Linked DNA regions of Homo sapiens: region 1 is linked to region 2. The links are contacts of gene promoters, found by promoter capture Hi-C in human tissues and cell types (Jung and others, 2019). All regions are on one chromosome and are shown on one strand. Each heading gives the region's core, a stretch centred on a gene start or on the middle of the fragment in contact. The rest is flanking DNA. Distances are from core to core; before and after follow the strand shown. Region 1 has its middle 22 kb from the start of SNX27. Region 2 holds the start of CGN (cingulin).

What was found. Contacts are between HindIII fragments. The study calls those that stand out against the background at their distance.
Region 1: a fragment that was not itself captured here is called in contact with the fragment with the promoter of CGN in region 2 in 2 of the 25 tissues and cell types used here (IMR-90 fibroblasts and spleen).

Annotation. Positions count from the first base shown.
Region 1 is chr1:151,586,868-151,592,717 of GRCh38, reverse strand. No RefSeq gene overlaps it. Among named protein-coding and RNA genes, the nearest start is that of SNX27, 22 kb to the left of the region's middle. The HindIII fragment of the contact is 3,838 bases long and covers 376-4,213 here.
Region 2 is chr1:151,507,427-151,513,374 of GRCh38, reverse strand. CGN (cingulin) reads right to left here and starts at 1,988. Exons shown (of 21, transcript NM_020770.3): 1 at 1,860-1,988. RefSeq lists enhancers at 1-28, 29-605, 1,468-1,607, 1,759-2,334, 2,335-2,911 and a silencer at 1,938-2,337. The HindIII fragment of the contact is 12,501 bases long and covers 1-5,948 here.

The sequences.
Region 1 (5,850 bases), core at 1,045-3,544, 79 kb before region 2:
ATATCTTCTCTGACATTGAATGCTAAAAAAAATTATTTATTTAGTTATTATTTATTTATTATTTGTTTTTGAGATGGAGTTTCACTCTTGTTGCCCAGGCTGGAGTGCGATGGCGTGATCTCAGTTCACTGCAACCTCTGCCTCCCAGGTTCAAGCAATTCTCCTGCCTTAGCCTCCTGAGTAACTGGGATTACAGGCACATGCCACCACACCCAGCTAATTTTTGTATTTTTGGAAGAGATGGGGTTTCACCATGTTGGCCAGGCTGGTCTTGAACTCCTGACCTCAGGTAAAATGCCCGCCTCGGCCTCCCAAAATGTTGGGATTATAGGCATGAGCCACTGTGCTGGGCCAAAAAATACTTATTGACAATTATTAACATATTTAGCATGTGCTACATGCCAAACGTGCCACATAGGATCCCCTCATATGGCTTTGTGCTGGCCACTGCCACACCCATGAGATTGTCAGGCATGGCACTAAGCACAAGTGCTCTGGAATCGAATCACCTATGACCTAGAACTGGTTTGACACTTTCTACCTGTGCATCCTTGGACAAGTGACTTACTATGTCTCAATCCCTCATCTGTAAAATGGGGATTAAATGACAGTGCATGTAAGCACTTGGTAAATGTTCTTATTAGATAGGCATTATTATTTTGGTTTTATAGATTAGGAAATTAAGGCTTAGAGAGCTTAAATAACTTTTCCAAACTAGTATGGCCAGTAACATATCTAAGATTATGAGCAAGATCCAAAGCCCATGCTAACTCCTTAAACTCTATGCTACACTATTCCCCTATTGTTGAATGACTGAATACAAGAACAAGTGAATGAATGCATGAATAAGATTATTTATTGCTGATGGCAATGATAATAGCTGGCATTTGACTCTCCCGTAAGGAGGATATTGGTCCCAGAATCTGTCTCTTCCTCATTCCCTAGGGCCAACTAAGAAAGAAAATGAAAACAATAATTTAAAAAAAAAAACAAACAGAAATGCCTCTTTATGATGAAAAAAATACAGGTTTCTTCTAAATCAGGGCTGTTCAATCTTTTGACTTCCCTGGGCCACAATGGAAGAAGAAGAATTATCTTGGACTACACATAAAATACACTAACACTAACAATAGACAATGAGCTTAAAAAAAACTGCAAAAGAATCTCAATGTTTTAAGAAAGTTTACAAATTTGCATTGGGCCACATTCAAAGCCATCCTGACGCGGCCCAGGATGGCTTGATTGAATAAACTTGTTCTAAATCAGTAAGCACGTATTAACCATCTACTTTGTGGCACTATTAGGGCTAGGCACTGTGGAATTAGAGATATCCCTGACCTTTAAAAGCTTGCAGTCTCTCTGGGGAAACAAACACATGCAAAGTCCGAATTATAATGGAAGACAGTACATTATGACATCCTACAACAGGGTAATACAGATGATCTGTGTTGAGCAGAAAGGGAACACAACACAGGCTTGAGAATTCTGGGAGGGCTTCACGAAAGAGAACACAGGTTAAGTCTTGAAGAATGAGGAACTTTCTTTGATGTTATCTTTCATTATTTCCTCTCCTTTTCTCCTACACCAGTTGGTCAGTCACCAAGGCCTATCAGTTCTTTCCCAGTGACTCTCACACCACCAGTCCCTTTCTTTCCAGTCCAGTGGCCATTATCGCAGTTCAGCCCCTCATTGCTTCATGCCTGGAGGTGCCCTAACATCTATTACTTGTTTCCTTGCTGCCAGCCTTTACCTTTTCAATCCATGCTCTTTGCCTCTTTGGGATTAGCCTTCTTATTTTATCATGTCACTCTAGTGATTCATTCATTCCAACTTCTCTTCAACTAATATTTATTGTGCATCTACTATGTGCCAGGGGCCACTCTTCTAGATACTAGGGATTCAGTGTTGAACAAGACAGGCAAGAAAAATCCCTGCCTTGACAGAACTTACATACTAGTTTAAACAAAAACAAACAAAAACCTCTAATGGAGACCTTTCACTTTAAAGATTAGAGTCCAGGCTGGGTGTGGTGGCTCATCCCTGTAATCCCAGCACTTTGGGAGGCCGAGGCAGGCAAATCACTTGAGGTCAAGAGTTCAAGACCAGCCTGGCCAACGTGGTGAAGCCCTGTCTCTAAAATTACAAAAATACAAAAATTAGCCAGGCATGGTGGTGCGCACCTGTAATCCCAGCTACTTGGGAGGCTGAGACAGGAGAATCGTTTGAACCAGGGAGTAGGAGGTTGCAGTGAGCTGAGATTACACCACTGCACTCCAGCCTGGGTGACAAAGCAAGACACCGTCTCAAACATAAAATAAAATAAAGTAAAAATAAGAATAAAGATTAGAGTCCAGACTCTTCCCAGAAGGCCCACTCCATTTGTCTCTCCTTGCCCTCTTGCCACTTTCCCAAAGGTCTCTTCAGCTGGGCTCACCATCCCCCACATATGCCACATTCATTTCCAACTCAAGCTTTCTTCCTGCCGATCTACCTGCCCAAATCCTTCGGAGCCTAGTTCTAGCTCCACAGCCTCTCCACCCTTCTCTCATATTAGCATTTCACATGTTCCATGACTATTCACCTATTTCACATGCTGCTGTTTTTCTCCCATCCATCTGACAAGTGCAAACTTCTGGAAGGCTACAACCCTGTTCTATATTTTCCATCCAGACATCCCCTACGGTACCTGGCTCAATATCATGCAAATAATAGGTTCTTTCTCTTCCTCCTCCTCCTCTTTTTCCACCTAACAATAACAAGTAACATCTGTGAAGCACTTTACAAAAGTGTTTTCAAATACATTATCTTGCATAAGCTATACAATACCCTTGATTCGATTATCAGTAAATATTTAATGGATTAATAGGTCAAAAGAGGAAGGCATTGCTGGTAAAAGAAATAACACCAGCAATTGTACAAAGACAGGAATGATCCCAGTATGTGCAGAAGGCAGTGAGAACACAGCCTAGCTGGAGAGAGAGTAAACACTCTAGAAAATTTAGATAAAAGAATAAAGGTAACAGAAGACAAAAACAAAGGCAAAACCCACCCCGCTAACATGATTAGCATTTAGGTATATTTATTTCTAGGCTTTCCAGAAACATTTTGTTTTGCAAAGCTGTCATAAATGTTCATAAAATTTTGTGTCCTACTTTTTTCATTTAACATTCTAAGCACTGCTCCCTGATGCGACATAGTCTTCATAACAGCCATTTGTAGTGAATGCATAATGTCCCAGAGTGACTGCATCCTCATTTACTTACCCATTTCTCTATTGTTGGACACATGTTGTTTCCCATTTTATATGATTATAATAAGCACTGCAACAAACCTCTTCTGCAGAGAGAAGAAATGAAAAGAAGCTGGGTATTTGGTGAGACCTCAAGCTTCTCTATGCAGGCTCACTTGAGTCTAAAGTGTCTCTGAACTTTTCTGTCACCTCAACCAGAAACACTGGTCCTTTGTTGTTTAAACCAATTGCAGTCACATTTTCTCCAACTTTTAGCCCATGTTATCCTACCTAACACAAGATGTTTGAGGGCAAGAGCAAAGTTGTATTGTTCGCTGCTGTGTCCCTACCTGAATCCTTGGTCAAAGACACGGTGGCCTGTAGAGAGCAGGAGCTTAATAAATATGTGCATTAAAAATAATACGAATTTATTTACTTATTTTTGAGATGGAGTCTCGCTCGGTCACCCAGGCTGGAGTGCAGTGCCACAATCTCAGCTCGCTGCAACCTCTGCCTCCTGGGTTCAAGCGATCCTCCTGCCTCAGCCTCCTGAGTAGCTGGGACTACAGGCACGCACCACCACGTCCAGCTGATTTTTGTATTTTTAGTAGAGACAGGGTTTCATCATGTTGGCCAGGATGGCCTCGAACTCCTGACCTCAGGTGATCCACCCACCTTGGCCTCCCAAAGTGCTGAGATTACAGGCGTGAGCCACCACGCCTGGCCAGAATATGAATTTTTTGATGAACTATTCTTTTCCTGACCACTGATCTAGTAAAATCTTAGTAATTGTATCAATTTGTTTGAGCTGATCAATAAAAATGTTGCCTGTTCACCACATTTGTCACTAATAATTCTTCATTCTTTGGGCCTTTAGTTTAATTCAGAAATTTTACATTTTTATGAACTAAAAATATGTTCCTTCATGACCTTCAATACTAACATTCTAAATGTATTTCCTTTTGGATTTGATATTCAATTTTATTTTCTTGTAGTTTTTCTACAATTTGTAATATTTAATTAATTTATATAGAATTTAGGTATGCTGTTTAGTTTCTTTTTCCCAATTATTATTCTTATTATTTTGAGATGGAGTCTCACTCTGTTGCCCAGGATGGAGTGCAGTGTCACGAACTTGGCTCACTGCCACGTCTGCCTTCTGGGTTGGAGCAATTCTCCTGCCTCAGCCTCCTGAGTAGCTGGAATTACAGGTGTGCACCACCATGCCTGGCTGATTTTTGTATTTTTAGTAGAGACAGGGTTTTGCCATGTTGGCCAGGCTAGTCTTGAACTGACCTCAGGCGATCCACCCTCCTCGGCCTCCCAGGGTGCTGGGATTACAGGCATGAGCCACCGCGCCCAGCCTTTTCCCAAATTTTTAACCAACTGTTCAAATACCTTTTTCCCCGTTAAGTTGCAATGCTGCTTTTATCCTTTTTAAATGCTTATACTGTATAATTGAGTCTATTTCTGCCTAGCTAGTCTCTTAAATTGATGTATAAGCTATATAATGTTTTGCTATTTGCCAAGGCTAATAATCCTCCCAAATTAGCTCTGCCTTCCAAATTTTCTTTACCATTTTCCCATTTATTCTTCCAGATGAAATTTTAAAATAATTATATCCAGTTCTAAAAAGACTCTATTGAATTACAATGTAACTCACTGTAATTACACAAAGCCTAAAAATAAAGAATTGACATCTTTACAATTTTAATTTTCCATCCAGGAAAATTTTTCTTCATTGTTTTCCCATCTTTCTCCACAAAATGTGGTCATTTTCTTCACATAGGTCATTGACATTTCAAATGAAGCTTATGCCTAGGTATTTTCTATCTCTTGTTATATTTTATGTTGTTTTCTAATTGAGATACTGCTGGTGTGTGTAGGAAAACTTGCTACTTGCCAAGACAGCCCACCCTCCTCGAATTGTCAATGGATTCTTTTGTTTCTTGGCTATCTCCCTGCAACCACCCCACACCATCCAGATTCTGCCCTCTGGAGCAAAACTGCTGCTGCTCCTCCCAAGAGACCAACCTTCATCTTTTTGGAAACTGCTATCATCCTCCTTTTGTCCTGGCTAAATAGCCCTGACTGACAGAAAGAACACTGCATTCCAGGAAGATTCAAATGACAGTGGTGGGGAGGGTAGATGTGGGGCAGGTAAGAGGCTAGAGGTAGAGATCAGCAAGGACTGGCTTCAGTGGTCATCTAGGCTTCAAGAGATGAGTTGAGACTGTCAACATGGGAAGGCACACTTCTGAAATATATTCTTTTTTTTTTTTTTTTTTTTTTTTTTAGCAGAGTCTCGCTCTGTCTCCCAGGCTGGAATGCAATGGCGCAATCTCAGCTCACTCCTGGGTTCAAGCGATTGTCCTACTTCAGCCTCCAAAGTAGCTGGGATTACAGGCGTGCGCCATCACACCCAGTTAATTTTTGTATTTTTAGTAGAGATGGGGTTTCGCTGTGTTGGTCAGGCTGGTCTTGAACTCCTGACCTTAGGTGATCTGCCCGCCTTGGCCTCCCAAAGTGCTGGGATTACAGGCATGAGCCACCACGCCCAGCCCCTGAGAGATATTTCAACAGAGGAAACGTGAGGACCTGTTGACAAACTGGATATAAGG
Region 2 (5,948 bases), core at 739-3,238:
GCTGAAAGAGCAGAAACCTGAGAGCCAGGCTACAGCTGCTTGGCCAGTAGGGAAAAAAACACAATGAGGAACTGGGCCCCTGCAAACTGGCTGGACTGGTTTGAGAGGCAAGGGGAAGGGGAGGGCCGGGGAAACTACACTGGCAGCTTGTAAAGCAGACCAGAGAAATTCCACACCACGGAGGAGGCAGAGGGGCAAGACCACAGGCAGGGGCTCTCCAGCCTTGATGGCAAAGCCAAAGCTCTGAAGGAGAGGACAGAGGGCAGGGAGGGAACAGGCAGGAGGAGCAGATGAACAGGAACCTGGTGACAGGCCAGTATGTGACAGGGAGACTTTGTCTCCCTCCACCCCTCCCTTTGAGGTTCCCAAAGTTGCATTCCTGATCCCACACTTGCTTTGGCCACCTCCCTGGTCCTCAGTCCGCCCCTCCCTGGCACAAAGAGAAGAGCCCTACACCCCCATCACCTCCCACAAGGGGAATGGCATGCAGGCCAGCCTGGGAAACACAGGAAGGGTTCTAGGAAGCCAGAATCCTCTTAGAGTCGGGCAAATCTCTGGATTAGCAGTCCCCCAGAGCCAGCCCCCAGACTCCCAAACATCCAGGATGAAAGAAGAGATGCATAGGCATGTGTAGGCAGCCCATCTACAAACATAGCGGTTGCTAATTATTTCCCAATTACAACAACCTTCCTCAGGCAGGGCTTCAAAGGGGCCAAGCTAAGGTTGACTCTAGTTCCTTTACCTGCCTAAGGCAAAGAAATTTGCCTCCAGTCTTGTCTGGGCCCCAAGGTGCACCTTTCATCTGTCCTGGGGATTTGGAGTTGTAATTTCCCTAGTCTCGTGGTCTCCTGATGAGTCCTGCCTATTTCCTGCCCCAATAGTGCCTGCTGCCATTCTGACAGCCACCGCAGTTCAGGAGTCAGGGATGCCTGGAGGGCGTTCAGGGAGTAATGGGGATTCCTCCAGACATCAAGGAAATTGGTTGGGCTCCCAAACCTCATCCAATGGTCCCCATCTAGAACCACAGAAAAAATATGTGGGTACTTGGAGAAAGGGTTTGACATCCGCCCCCAGAAAGGGGCCTCCTGAGAAATAAGTATTAATATTTATCAATATTTTGCAGGACCAGGCAGGGCTCTTTGCTTCCTCATATCCCTCTCTTGGGGAGTACTCTCTCTCTCTCTCAAGAGGAAGAAGGAACGATTCTCCCTGGCACGAAAGCAAAGGACACAAAGTGAAAGCCTAATGGTTGTACACCTGGTGAAGAGATGAGGGTGCCCTCTCATCTGCCCCTCAGTGTCTCTGATTCGCAACTGCCTTCGGCCGGAGGTGAAGGGCTGGGGAAAAAATCCCACACCTCAGAGTCATCTCAAAGCCACCAGGGTGCTGACAACGGCCAGCTGAGACCGCAGGACGCAGGAAAGACCCTCAGGCGAGCAGCACCTGCAGATGCCCTCCCCTGGCGAGTCTGCACCTCAGGCAGCAGCAGTTCCCGACTCAGCTGGAACTAACTCCTTCCCCGCGCCACCGCTGTCTCCAAGAGAAATTCTGCCCCTAGGGCTGGCGTCTGACCTCCAGAGACATCTGGCGCTGAAACGCTTTCATGCGCTGGGAACAGCCTTCGCCCCAGGTGCCCCTCGCCTGGCACCTTCCTAGCCACCTGCATCTGGCACCTCAGGGTAGGGGTCGGCTCTTAATCAGTACCCCACCCCGCCCCAATCTCCCCTCCTCCCGTCTCCCACTCGGCACCGGTGCCCTGGAGAGGGGCATCTCACACCGCCTCGATGCCTGCCCCTCAAAGGTACCCCTGAAGGCTCGCTTTCCTCTCGGGTGCCCTGGCCCGCACCGGGTCCACTCACCCTAGCCGGGCTCCGCGCTCCCAGGCTTGCGTTCGGGCTCGGGCTCGGGCTCGGGCTCGGGCTCGGGCTCGGGCTCGGGCAAAGCAGCACGCGCAGCTCCGGCCCTCCCCCTCGTCCTCGGAGCTCCCTCCTTTCTCTCCCTCCCACCAACCTGTTACTCCGCTGCGGAGCTCCACCCCCGCGGGCCGTCAGTGCCCGCCCCGCCTTTCCCCGCTCCGGTTGGTCCGCTTCCCGTAGGGGGCGGGGCCTCCGGTGCGGGGACCGGGACCCGGGGTCTCCAGCCGCGAAGGGCGGGCCAGGTCACGTGGACCCACGGGCTGCGGAGCGTCGGGGCGGGGCGGCGAGGGGCGCGGAGGCCATTTTGGGGGCGTCGCGGATGGTCGCGAGTGACCGCCGGCCAAGATCCCGGGAGCCGTCGGCCAGAGCATCTTCTGGGCTCTGCTAGAAAACAGCCTCCTGCCTCCCGTTTACTCCAAGGGAATCGCCGGCCAGGGCCCTTTCTGTCCTTCACCTACCTCTGCAGGAACCAGAATGCTCTTTCGTCACTTTCTGCAGAAAATATCTCCGTTGTCCCCCGACGTCAGAGCCTCCTGCACCTCAGCTCGTCTCCCTTTTCCCTGACCCGAACCAGAACCCTGATCTTGGATTCTCTTTTATCTTGTGGCCTCCGCAATCATTTTGCAGCCTGACATCTTTTTCTATGTAATATTTATCACCTTCTAGTTAATAACATAATTTTAAAAATCATTTTCATCATTTTGCCTCCCGTCCTACGATAAGCTTCACCAGAGCAAGGATCTCTTGTTCTGTGCCTTGCTTCACCCCAAACGCCTACAACAGGGACTGGTACATACTACATGCTTAATAAATATTTGTTGACTGAATGAATGGAAACCGGGGACGCAAATTTACCAAAATAGGAATGACCTTCGTTCTAAACTGAAAGGGACTCAGTTGTAAATTTACCTCAGAGTTAGCCTCTCAAAAAGTAGGGATGCTGATCCCAGTTCCTAGAAAAGAGTAAAAACTAGGGGCTCTGCAAACTGCAGGACCGCTCATACCAGCTGCAGTTAAAACAACATTAAAGCTGGCATCCTAGCTGTTAACCGTTGAGATATGTAAAAAAGAGATTGACTTCGTTTACGTTGCTGGGCTCCGGATTTTGTTCTCATTTAGTTACAACAAATATTTACCCTGTATCTATTGGAGTAGAAGAGGAATCTTCGATGCAGCACAGATTCCGGTGTATTCTCGGGAGCTGGTTTCCGCCCCTCCCCAAGCCTTCAAAAGCTAGGTGTGGGTCCTACAGAGTAAAGTCCACTTACCAGCTCCTCAGCTGGGATGCAAAGTCTCTGCATTCCAGAGCAAGCTGTATATAAGGATTAGGGCCATCAAACCGGCCTGTTCCCTGGGGAGGAACAGCAAAAAACATGTAGTGGGGGTGGGGACAGAAGAGGAAATGTCCTTCCAGGAGCGCACCTCCTGAACACTGGGTGGCTTTTAAAAGACTTTTTTTTAAAAAATTTTTTCTTATTTTTCTTTTATTGTGCAGCCTCCTGAACCAGAATAGGTTCAGAGACACTCCCATGGGATGGTTTTTGGTTTGGGTTTTTTTTGTTGTTTTTTTTTTTTAAGACGGAGTCTTGCTCTATCGCCCAGGCTAAAGTCCAGTGGCGCAATCTCGGCTCACTGCAACCTCCGCCTCCCAGATTCAATTGATTTCCGGCTAATATTTTGTATTTTTTAATAAAGACAGGGTTTCACCAGGCTGGTCTTGAACTCCTGTCCTTAAGTGATCTGCCCACCTTGGCCTCCCAAAGGGCTAGGATTACAGGCGTGAGCCACCACACCCAGCCTGTTTTGGGTTTTTTTGTTTTTGTTTTTGCTTTAGTTTTGTTTTTTTCATTGAGACGGAGTCTCACTCTGTCACCCGGGCTGGAGTGCAGTGGTGCAATCTCTGCTTACTGCAGCCTCAGCCTCCAAAGCTCAAGCGATCCTCCCACCTCAGCCTCCTGAGTGGCTGGAACTTCAGGCGCCCACCACCACACCGGGCTAATTTTGGCATTTTTAGTAGAGATGGGGTTTCCATGTTGTCCAGGCTGGTCTTGAACTCCTGAACTCAAGCGAACCGCCTGCCTCGACCTCTCAAAGTACTGGGACTACAGGAGTGAGCCACCACGCTCGCCCCCACCAAGTGTTTGTAAGGAGATTTTTTTTTTTAATGTGGGATATTAAATTGACTCAGATATTGGAAAGGCGGAAGCGCCTAAACTCCCCTAGATAACACCTTAGCAATTAGGATACTTAGTATATTTGTAGTAAATACCAATTTGGGTGGTTACCCAGCACCATGAACACGAATTACAAGGATAAGTGGGAGCCTCTGAGTCACCGCCTTCGTCATCTGTTCTTCAAGGAAGCACTCAGTCTGAGAGGTACATCCAGGCACAAGTGACAAAGGCGACACCCTGGTCTTTTTCCAGAGTTCAGAAGACAGGTGATCCCTCTCCTTAAGAAATGCTACAGGGCCAGGCGTGATGACTCATGCCTCTAATCCCAGCACTTTGGGAGGCCAAAACAGGAGGATAGCTTGAGCCCTGGAGTTGGATCGCTTGAACCCAGGAATTCAAGACCAGCCTGGGCAACACAGTGAGACCCCATCTTTATAAAAAATAATAATAATAAAATTTTTTCAAAAAAGAAATGGCAAAATTGGCCAGTTTATAAATACAGCAAAAACAGAATTTATAGCAAATATAATACCCAGAAAGAAGAAATAACACTGATAGATGTTAAAGAGAGAAGTTTTATTTTATGAAATGGGATAATAGAGAAAGTTTTAGGTAAATTGCAGGTTTCATCAAAGAAGTGGATTTGCCATCCTCGCTAACATGGTGAAACCCCGTCTCTACTAAAAATACAAAAAATTAGCTGGGTGTGGTGGTGGGCGCCTGTAGTCCCAGCTACTTGGGAGGCTGAGGCAGGAGAATGGCCTGAACCCAGGAGGCGGAGCTTGCAGTGAGCTGAGATCTAGCCACAGCACTCCAGCCTGGGCGACAGAGCGAGACTCCATCTCAAAAAAAAAAAAAAAAAAAAGTGGATTTGGAACCAAATTCCTCTCCTGCAATTCTTTCCTGAATTCTCCAAGATTCACTGATACCACTAGCAACTCTACTGAATTGTTCTCTCAAAGATCACCCGTTTAAGGCCGGGCACGGTGGCTCATGCCTGTAATCCCAGCATTTTGGGAGGCCAAGACAGGCGGATCACGTGAGGTCAGGAGTTCGAGACCAGCCTGGCCAACATGGTGAAACCCTGTCTCTACTAAAAATACAAAAATTAGCCGGGCATGGTGGTACATGCTTGTAATCCCAGCTACTCGGGAGGCTGAGGCAGGAGAATCGCTTGAACCCAGGAGGCTGAGGTTTCAATGAGCCGAGATTGTGCCATTGCACTCCAGCCTGGGCAACAAGAGTGAAACTCTGTCTCGAAATAATAATAATAATAATAATAATGGAAATGAGGTGATGCCACTAGCTGAAATGGAAAGGACAAGAGACAGGAAGGATTTGAGGAGGACCTAGAAGAAGAGTATGATAAATTAACTCTGGAACCTGATATTTTAAAGAAGCATGTGATGCCGGGCGCGGTGGCTCACGCCTGTAATCCCAGCACTTTGGGAGGCTGAGGCGGGCGGATCAACAGAGGTCAGGAGTTCAAGACCAGCCTGACCAACATGGAGAAACCCTGTCTCTACTAAAAATACAAAAATTAGCCGGGCGTGGTGGCACACGCCTATAATCCCAGCTACTCGGGAGGCTGAGGCAGGAGAATCACTTGAACCCGGAAGGCAGGGATTGCGGTGAACAGAGATCACGCCACTGTGCTCCAGCCTGGTCAACCAGAGCAAAACTCCGTCTCAAAAAAAATTTTAAAAAAGCATGTGGTAAATCCACACACACATACAAATGTCTAGCAAACAACTGGAAATGAAGCCTAGAAAAGAAATCAGGGCTAGAGACAGAGCTAAGAATCATCCTCATAGATGAAAGTTTGCTAAGAGGACTACAGAACAAACTGTGAGAAATA